2 separate regions of the Homo sapiens genome follow, and region 1 is linked to region 2. Evidence: promoter capture Hi-C in 16 types of primary human blood cells and fetal thymus (Javierre and others, 2016). All regions are on one chromosome and are shown on one strand. The core of a region is centred on a gene start or on the middle of the fragment in contact, and the rest is flanking DNA. Distances in the headings are between cores, read along the strand shown. Region 1 overlaps LOC100130987 (a long non-coding RNA gene). Region 2 holds the start of KDM2A (lysine demethylase 2A).

Region 1 (4,613 bases), core at 1,279-3,778, 210 kb after region 2:
GCCCATTTTCCTCAGCGTCTTATCTCAGCACAGCTTCTGCCTGTCATTGGACAAGTTTGATCTGAGTTTCTCTCTCACTCTCATGCTCTCAGTACATGCTGACTTGTTCTCAGGGCACTGAGAACTTGTGCTCTTCCCCTTGACTCTGCCAGGTGCACCCTCTCCCAGATAGGCACCCTGGGTAGCTGTGAGACTTCAGGGGATTCTGTATCTGGGTTAGAGAACCAGGAATAGGAAAACTGTTCTCCCACTGGGTGGGGAAGGAAGTTAGCAAAAGTTTGCCTGATGGGATTGGCCTGGATAGTAATGCTACACCCTATGCGACCCCATCTCATTGGCAGCCCTGGCAGAGCAGCTCAGTGAGCCACAGAGGTAAAGGTGGAAGGTGAGTGCGGCAGGGAATGTAAAGGCTCAGGCTAAAGGCTAAAGCAGGGTCCCACCTGCTGGCATAACTCAAGCCAGAGCCATGGAGGCGGAGGTGGGAGACAGGTTTGGGTAAAGGAGGATGCCCCTGGGGAGAGGGAGCTGGTTATATGCATCCTACCTAATTTATCTTCATATGGCCTGAGAAGGCTTGGAGCTGGCCTGCTTTGCCCAGAACAGCAGCAGCCTGTCTCCCCAGGCAGCACACACTGCTGTGCAGCTCCTCTCTTGGTTTGGCAGACCGACTCCCATCCTCTGATGGCCCTCGAGAGACCTTTTTCACACCCTCCACCCTGCCTGGTGGCTCAGCTAGATGCCTCCCGCAGCTCTGTCCACCGTCTGAGATCTGATCATCCCAAATGTTCCTATGCCAGGCTGAACTCTGCCTTCTCAGAATGTCCTCACTCCTGCCAACCCAAAGCTCTTATTTTCAACACAGAAATGGGAAATTGGGAGGGAGGCTGAGTGCCATGGGGCCTAGAGCATGTGGTTTGGAGGCAACCAATGGAATCATTTTGGGGTCAATGGGATGCCTGAGCTGATAAGCAGAGATCCCCCGTCCCTACTCCCGAATATCCCTGTGGTGGGTGGGGCTGTGTATAGCAAGGCCTATATGCAGCAAGATCCACAGGTGGTCCTCACTTGCCTACCCCACCATCCTGCTCCAGCTTCACCCTCACCCTCCACCTCAGCCCTGTTCATTCCTCTCTTCCCTCTTTCCCTCCTCTCCTCCCTCTAGGTAGTGCAAGCAGCAGCTGTTGACCCTAGGGGCACATATGCTTGCCTGGCCTATCTGCACTTGAGCTTCCTACGGGTGCCCATCTTGGCCTGCATGCTGCAGGACTTGCGCTTCTGGGCAGATAGCTCTGATTCTTCTCCTCTTCAAAAGGAAAAAGGACTCAGATAAGAGAAGACGTTAGGGAAAGAAGACTTGGAAGTACATGGAGGCTAGATAGGAAGGAACTAGGTGGAAGGGATGCTGTCGGAGAATAACTGAAGGCACCAGGGGCCCAGGGTAGCTGTAAGGGCCTAATGGTCCCTGGGACTGGGTTGTGGGGCCAGGTGAGGCTGGTCTGATGGAGGAGCTGTTCTTGGAAGGAGAATTCTGTTTCTGGCTAGACCCTTGTTTGAGTACAAGGAACTGTGAAGGATCCATTTGACAGGAAGCCTAGGATAAAACTAAACTCATTCTTTTTTCTTACAGCTCACCTCTGAGTCTTGAGCTCCAAACCAGCCCCTCCTGCTGACTTTTCCATTATCAATAGTCTCCTATACCCAGTTGTAAATCTCAGGGTAACGCTGACTTTCCACATTTAATCAATTATCAGATTCTGATAGTCCTTCACAAAACAGTTGCCTTTTGTCCCCACTTCCTTTACCCAGCCGAAGTCCCTGTTCCTACGCCTCAGCTACTGTGATAACTTTACAGCTGGTGATGCCCTTTAGTCTGTCCAGAGCACCTTAACTACACAGACGTATTCATCCCTTCGCATGTGTTACTCCTGTGTTAAATGCCTTTGGTGTGCTCTCTATGGCCTGCCAAGTGCAGTACAGACTCTATTCTGCACTGGAGTGCAGTGGCGTGATCTCAGCTCACTGCAACCTCCATCTCCCGGGTTCAAGCAATTCTCCTGTCTCAGCCTCCCAAGTAGCTGGAATTACAGGCGCGTGCCACTGTGCCTGGCTAATTTTTGTACTTTTAGTAGAAATAGGGTTTCACCATGTTGGCCAGGCTGGTCTCAAACTCCTGACCTTGTGATCTGCCCGCCTTGGCTTCCCAAAGTGCTGGGATTACAGGCATGAACCACTGCGCCCAGCCCAGACTCTCTATTCTTTTTTTTTTTTTTTTTTTTTTTTGAGACGGAGTCTGGCTGTCGCCCAGGCTGGAGTGCAGTGGCGCGATCTCGGCTTACTGCAGGCTCTGCCCCCCGGGGTTCACGCCATTCTCAGACTCTCTATTCTTTTGCTGAAGGCCTTTTATGAATCTGATGCCAGCCTACCTTTCTGGCTTTATCTCCCAGAACATCCTACGATGTACCTTTCACTCTCATCAAACTAGACTACCGACTGTTTCTCGAAAAACTTTTTCCACCTCTTCACCTTTGCTTATGCTTATCTTTCTGTCTGGGAAGGTTCCTTCCACCATTCATCTCTCCATTTAAAAATATTTTTTGAGCACTTTTTATTTTGAAAAATTTCAGTGCAGAGAAGTTGAAAGAGTAGTACAGTGAACAGTTATGTAACCTACACCTAGATTTGCCAGTTATTATTTACATGTTTCTTTCTTTTCTCTCTTTTTTTCCTGGACCAACTGAAAATAAGTTGCAGGCATTATGACACTTTACCCCTAAATATTTTGGTCTGTATCTCCTCATAATAAGGACATCATTCTACATAACCACAATCCTTTCTTTTCCTTTTTTTTTGAGACTGAGTCTCACTCTGTCACCAGGCTGGAGTGTAGTGGTGCGATCTTGGCCCACTGCAACCTCCGCCTGCCAGGTTCAAGCGATTCTCCTGCCTCAGCCTCCCAAGTAGCTGGGACTACAGGCGTGCACCACCACGCCCAGCTAATTATTTATTTATTTATTTATTTATTTTCGCCCAGCTAATTTTTGTACTTTTAGTAGAGATGGGGTTTCACCATGTTGGCCAGGATGGTCTCGATCTCTTGACCTCGTGATTTGCCTGCCCTGGCCTCCCAAAGTGCTGGAATTAAAGGCGTGAGCCACTGCGCCTGGCCAGTCTTTTCTTAAAAAAAAAAAAAAAAAGTCTGGGATTGAGTGTGGTGGCTCATGCCTGTAATCCCAGCACTTTGGGAGGCCAAGGTGGGAGGATCGCTTAAGGCCAGGATTCAAGACTAGCCTGGACAACATAGTGAGATTCCCATCTCTACAAAAATATTTAAAAATTAGCCTCGGTGACAAAGTGAGACCCTGTCTCAAAAAAAAAAGAAAAAAATGAAGAAGAAGGAAAAAAAAAAAGATAATGTGATTATTAGGCCAGGTGTGGTAGCTCATGCCTATAATCCCAGCACTTTGGGAGGCCAAGGCAGGAAGAGCACTTGAGCCCAGGAGGTTGAGGCTACAGTGAGCAATGTTCTTGCCACTGCACTCCAGCCTCAGCGACAGAGTGAGACCCTATTTGTAAAAAAAAAAAAAAAAAAAAAAAAAAGTTAAAAATTAACTGGGCACGCCAGGCGCGGTGGCTCACACTTGTAATCCCAGTACTTTGGGAGGCTGAGGTAAGTGGATCACGAGGTCAGGAGTTCGAGACCAGCCTGGCCAACATGGTGAAACCCCATCTTTACTGAAAATACAAAAATTAGCCTGGCGTGGTGGCGAGCACTTGTAATCCCAGCCGCTTGGGAGGCTGAGGCAGGAGAATCGCTTGAACCTGGGAGGCGGAGGTTGCAGTGAGCCGAGATCACCCCACTGCCTTCCAGCCTGGGCAACAGAGCGAGATTCCATCTCAAAAAAAAATTTTTTTTTTAACTGGGCATACTGGTGCTTGCCTATAGTCCCAACTACTCAGGGGGCTGAGACAATAGGATGGCTTGAGCCCAGGAGTTTGAGAGGCTGCAGTGAGCCATGATTGCACCGCTGCACTCCAGCCTGGATGACAGAGTGAGACACCGTCTCTAAAAAACAACAAAAAATAAAAATGTGGTAAAATATACATAAAATTTACTATTTTGCAGTTTTAAAGTATATAGTTGTGGCATTACGTACATTCACAATGTTGTGTAACTGTGACCACCATCCATTTCCAGAACTTTTTCATCATCACAAACAGAAACTGTGTACCCATTGAATGATAGCTCCCCATTCCCCCCGGTAACCTCAATTCTACTTTCTGTCTGTGAATTTGCCTCTTCTAATTACCTCATATAAGTTGAGACACACATTATTTGTCCTTTGATGTGTGGCTTATTTCACTTAGCATGTTTTTAAGGTTCACCCATGTTGTAGCACATGTTCAGAATTTCAATTTTTTTTTAAGGCTGAATAATATTCTCTTATATGGATAGACCACATTTTGTTTACCCATTCATCTGCTGATAGACGTTTGGAATGTTTTAGCCTTTGGCTGTTGTGAATATGCCGCCATAAACATTGGTTTACTAGTATCGGAGTCACTGCTTTCACTTCTTTAGGGTACATACTAAGAGTGGAATTGCTGGATAATAT
Region 2 (4,985 bases), core at 2,194-4,693:
AAATGGTGACTGGATTTTCACTCTCAGCATTTGTTGAGTCTTAGCTTTGCTCAAAAAGGCAGTGATTTATTAATATCTTATTAAGATGCCAATTTATTCCAGCCAGGGACCCTGTTCTCAATGCCTCTAGAATGCATTTTTATTTCCTTCTTCCCATATACCATTGTCAGGGTTGAAGCCAGAGAGTTCATAGTTGGGGAATCCCCCAAGCTCTATTCTCCCTGCAAATGGCTGTTTTAGGGCAATGCAGCCTCACAGATCTGTCCTTGCCAATCAGAGCCACTGTGATGGCGGGAGGAATCACTAGCCATCTGTCTACCTCTTATCTCACCCTATATATCTGCTCTGGATTATTAACAAAGCCTGCCTGTGGAGAAACCATTGTGTATATCTGTTTAAATGTCCCGTTCCCCCAACGCAGACTAGTTAACAAATGGTTTCCTACGGCAAAAGAGCTGGCTGCAATCTGACAAATCTTGCTCTACTGGCAGTCCCATTCAAAATAAGTACTACTATTATTGTTCTAGAGCCTTTTTTTGGGGGGGGGGCGGGGAGATGGAGTCTCACTCTGTAGCCCAAGCTGGAGTGCAATGGCGCCATCTCGGCTCACTGCAACCTCCACCTCTTGCATTCAAGTGATTCTCCTGCCTCAGCCTCCCATGTAACTGGGATTATAGGCATGCACCACCACGCCCGGCTAATTTTGTATTTTTTTTTTAGTAGAGACAGGGTTTTGCCATGTTGGCCAGGCTGGTCTTGAACGCCTGACCTCAGGTGATCCACCTGCCTTGGCCTCCCAAAGTGCTGGGATTACAGGCGTGAGCCACCGCGCCCGGCCTGTTCTAAAGCCTTTCTAGGGTTCTCCCAGCATGCCCATCTGAATTAAACTTGGAGGTATCTGATTGCCAAGGGTGTGCAACTCACCTCCTTGAGGGTTAATTACTTAAGGGGGTCTGAATGTTAAGAAAAAGGGCAAGACCAAGTTGAGCTACTCCTAGAGACTTTCTCTTTGCCGCCAAGTATTCCCTGGGTTATAAGGGTGAGTGGGAAGGAAATAAAGCTGTTTATTTTGCAAATAGCAACAAGGCCCAACACTTAATCTGACAATGGCAAAAGCTTTCTCTCCTGCTTAAAAAACAAACAAAACGAGCTGCTGACTTTTTCTATAACTACAGAGAGCCAGATGCTTATGGGGCCATATCTGGTAGCACCAGTGTGAGAGACTGCTGCTTTTAAAATATACTTTACCATAGTCGGAAAGATTTAAAGAGGCTTTAGATCTGATACAGTTTCTGTGATTATCTTCTTCGTATCAGTGCTCTGAAAATCTAAGAAGTCTGAACAAAACTGGTATCAAAATAAAGAATATTTCCCAGTGACTAGAACGCAAGAAGATGATATCTTATTAACAAACCTTTTTTGCTGTTTGTGAGATGTTTCAGTCGGCTGTTGGAGTAATTATGCAAGCTCTTTAACCTTTCTATACTTCAGTTGTCTATCTTTAAAATGAATATAGCGCTAACAGGCACTTTAGCTTGTCTCCTAAGGATGTTGTGAAACAAAGCAGAGAATGTCTGTACAAACTCCCCAAGTTGTGCATGCAGAAAAACCTTCTGTGGTAATAAATAATAATACCTTGCATTTACGTAGCGCTTTTACCTTGGAGTTCAAGCCTTGATAGAATTAGAAGGTATCATTATTTTAATTGTCTCGCTAACGTCCTCCTGAAAGAGTTGATGGCTGTTTATGCAGGTTATATGATTCACTCCATGCCCTACCTCTCTGCTCCATTCCCTGCTTCCAGGAGTCAGAGCTTAAAGAGTGGGAAACCAAGGCAGGGAGAAAAAGATTTGTGTGACACCGCTCAGCAAGGGCGTAGTGGAGCCAATAGTGCCAACCCCGATGTGTAACGCCCCAGCCACCGTCCTTTGTGGGATTTAGAATTTAAACGGGCCCCAGAGCAAGAGATTGGCTGGGGAAATGCCCGGATCGCGGCTGGGCTGCTCGCATGGCACTGCTCGGGTACCTCCGGCCGGGCTCCGTCGACGTTCGGAGCCTGCTGGCCCGTCGGGCAGCTGTCGGGCCGCGGGAGTCGGTCCGTGGGCAGGGCCGGCGCAGCTCGGGCGGCTGCTGCCCCGTCGCTGACCCCCGCGCGAAGCTGCGCGCACCAACAGGAGACATCTTCCCGGCCGGGCCTCCCGCGCCCGCCACGGCCCAGGGCGGCAGGGTCGGGCCGGGGGCCGGGGGCGGCCCGCGCACCCCTCCGTGGGGGGCGCCCCGACTCGCCGGGGGCGGGGTCACGTCCCACCCGGGCCGCCGGGGGCACCGGCGCGGCGGAAAGCTGAGCGTGGCCGAGGAGCGGGGGCTTCCTGGGCCACCTCGCCGGGCGCCTCCGGCCGGCGGTGGGCGCGCCGGCCGCCACCGCCCCCGGGCCGTCGCGGAGACCGCTTCTGCGCCTGGTACCTGTGGACGCCCTTGTTAAGCGCCTGCAGCACCCCCGGGGAGCCGAGCCCAGGACAGACATGCTACTCCTGTTTCCTGCCCCTTCGGAGCGACGAGCAGTGGGTGAGGCGGGGCCAGGCCGCTGCACCGAGGAGCCCCCGGGCCCAGGGCAGACGGGCCCCGTGGCGGCGGCGCCGGGGCCTGCCCGGGAATGGCGGGCAAGCCGGCCTCGGCCCACCGGCCGGCACGCGAAGGGAGGGCAGCCGGCGGCCATGCGCCCCTTCCCTGCGCCCTCTCGCCCTGGGCAGGCCTGAGCCGGGAGCCCAGGTCCCGCGGGCCCAGCCCGGCGGCTTGACCCCGGGAGACCCTGCTTTGAGGCGGGTATCGGTTGCCCTGGCCCAGGCCTCCCGGCCCTCAGGTTGTGTGACTGTGACGGGCAGCCTGGGGCCAAAGGCGGTTGAAGGGGAAGGGGACGCAGATCTCCCACTGCTTGGGGGGGGTGATGTGCTTTGTGGGGGGTCGGGGGTCACCACCCTCCCAGGGGGGTGGGGGAGGGCGGCCAGCACAGCTGGCCGCGAGGGGCGGGGTCGCAGAGGCGAAGTGTGTGTGAGGGTGTGTGGGGGGAGGGCGCGCGGAGGAGGATCGGTGCCCTGCGCGCAGGCGCGAGCAGCCAGCCAGGCCCGAGCCCTGGAAGAACGCCGACGGGGAGCGGGGGCGGCGGGCTGGCGGGAGGGAGGGAGGGCGGGCGGCCTGACGCGAGGGGGCGCAGGGAGCCGCGTCGGCGTCGCGGGGCGCGGGCGATTCGAGGCCGACGCATCCGCGCGTGCGCGCGCCGGCGGTGTGTCCGCGTTAGAGGGGAGTGACGCGTGCGCGTTCACGCGCGCCCGGGAGAGCGGTAAGAAGCGCAGGGAGGCCTGAAGGGGGTGGGGGGGTGGAGAGGCGAGCTGGAGGAGGGGTGGGGAGGTGGCGCCTGCGCAGTGCGCCTCGGAGGAGCTGTGTGTATGTGAGAGTCTGACGGGTTCAAAATGGCGGCGGCTGCTTCAGCGGCTCCTCCTGTGTGAGGGAAACAACACCCCTCCCCGGCAGCGGCGGCGGCGGCGGCGGCTCTCGGAGCACCTTCCCAGCGGCTGGGCCCGTGGCCGCTCTGTCTTTCCTGGGCAGGGGACGCTCCGGGAGGAGGGGCAACGCCAGGGGGCCCATCCCCCGGAATCCCTCTTCTGCGACTGGGGAGTAGCCGGGGGGCTCGTCCCGCAGCGCGGAGCCAGACCTGAGGGGGAGACGCGAGGGGAGCCAGGGCCCCCATCCCGGCGCGCCGCGCCGCTCCCGCCCTGTCCGCCCCCCGGGGCCGGGGCCCGCGTTCCGGGGGGCCGGGGCGGCGCGGGGAGCCTCGGGCCGGCCGGTCTCAGCTGATCGGCCGCTGCTCCCGCAGGCGACCAGCCCCTGCTGGCCGAGGGCACGGCGAGGAGGGCGCTCCCTGCGGCCGGGGCCGGCCCGGGGCTCGGGCCCGGGCTGCTGACCGCTGGCCTGGGGGAGGCGGGGGCGCCCCGGGCTCGGCGCCGAGGGGTCGCGCTCCTCTCTCCTGACGCCTCCGACTCCCGGTCTCCAAAGCCAGAAGAGAAGGTTTGATTCAGCAACTGTTTGCTCCCTTTTCCTGGTCGCTCTGACCCTCTCTGGATACTGGGTTGATCCACGGAAAAACCGAAGACGACGTTTGGGATTTAATTATTCCTCTCAGCTTTGGAATCTTTTACTTCTCACTTGGACAAGAACTCAAGAGCAGAATCTCCGGTGAGTTTCCCCCTCCCCCCCCTCATTTGGAAGTTTGGTTGACTGTGTTATCCAAAGACTGAATGCAAAGTTTCTATCTCTTTTTCCGATGGGTGAACCATTGAAACGCCTTTTCCTGGGGGAGCCCAGCGAGATTCGCCCTTTTTCCTCTCCGGCCCTGGCTGCTCCATGCCCAGGCGGTCGTCGCCCAGGGGGTGCAAGCACGGTTTCCCTCCCGACTTCGGGCCAGGGCTTCCTCCGGGAGGGCTCTGCCTCTAACTGCTCTGCAAACTGTGTCATCGGGTCCTCTGGTCTCGTAGCAGTTTTGAAAGGATGCTGTTAACGTGGCTGTAATGTAGTGACAAAAACGGGGGGAACCTGTGTTCTCAATGGAAGCCATTATCCACGAGAATATTTAGAAAAAAGAAAACCCTTTCTTGGTATTACGGATTGACCGTCGCGCCGGCCGGTCTTTTATTTAATTTTTGGACAAGATGTATTTTCCTTGTATCCTTAGATGCAATCGTTTATTTTATTACTTTATCCAAAAAGATCAGATGGAATTTTGGTCCTTGATTTGCACCTCTGAAATTTGTTTCAGAGTTGTGCACATCTTGTGTTGGGGTGGAGGGTAGATTTGGGAATGATAAGATCCGGGGAGTCTAGAAAGGAAGGCGACGATTGTGCACGGCCTTACAGGAGGGGTATGGGAAATTGTTTTGGGGTCATTTAAATCCTAATTTTTTGTCCTCTTTTTACATAGTCAGTTTGCCCTT

The links. The method cuts DNA at HindIII sites, captures the fragments that hold promoters and counts their contacts. A CHiCAGO score of 5 or more calls a contact.
Region 1: a fragment that was not itself captured here is called in contact with the fragment with the promoter of KDM2A in region 2 in 1 of 17 cell types (neutrophils); the score reaches 5.3 in neutrophils.

Annotation. Positions count from the first base shown.
Region 1 is chr11:67,321,866-67,326,478 of GRCh38, forward strand. The region is part of intron 2 of LOC100130987 (a long non-coding RNA gene); the gene reads left to right. Among named protein-coding and RNA genes, the nearest start is that of SSH3, 21 kb to the left of the region's middle. The HindIII fragment of the contact is 9,734 bases long and covers 1-4,613 here.
Region 2 is chr11:67,115,820-67,120,804 of GRCh38, forward strand. KDM2A (lysine demethylase 2A) reads left to right here and starts at 3,444. Exons shown (of 21, transcript NM_012308.3): 1 at 3,444-4,230. It overlaps LOC107984341 (a long non-coding RNA gene), which reads right to left and starts at 2,529. Exons shown (of 2, transcript NR_160735.1): 1 at 1,415-2,529. RefSeq lists silencers at 2,351-2,400, 2,541-2,820, 3,001-3,440, 3,581-3,650, 3,831-3,970 and 2 more and an enhancer at 2,881-2,930. The HindIII fragment of the contact is 9,806 bases long and covers 1,115-4,985 here.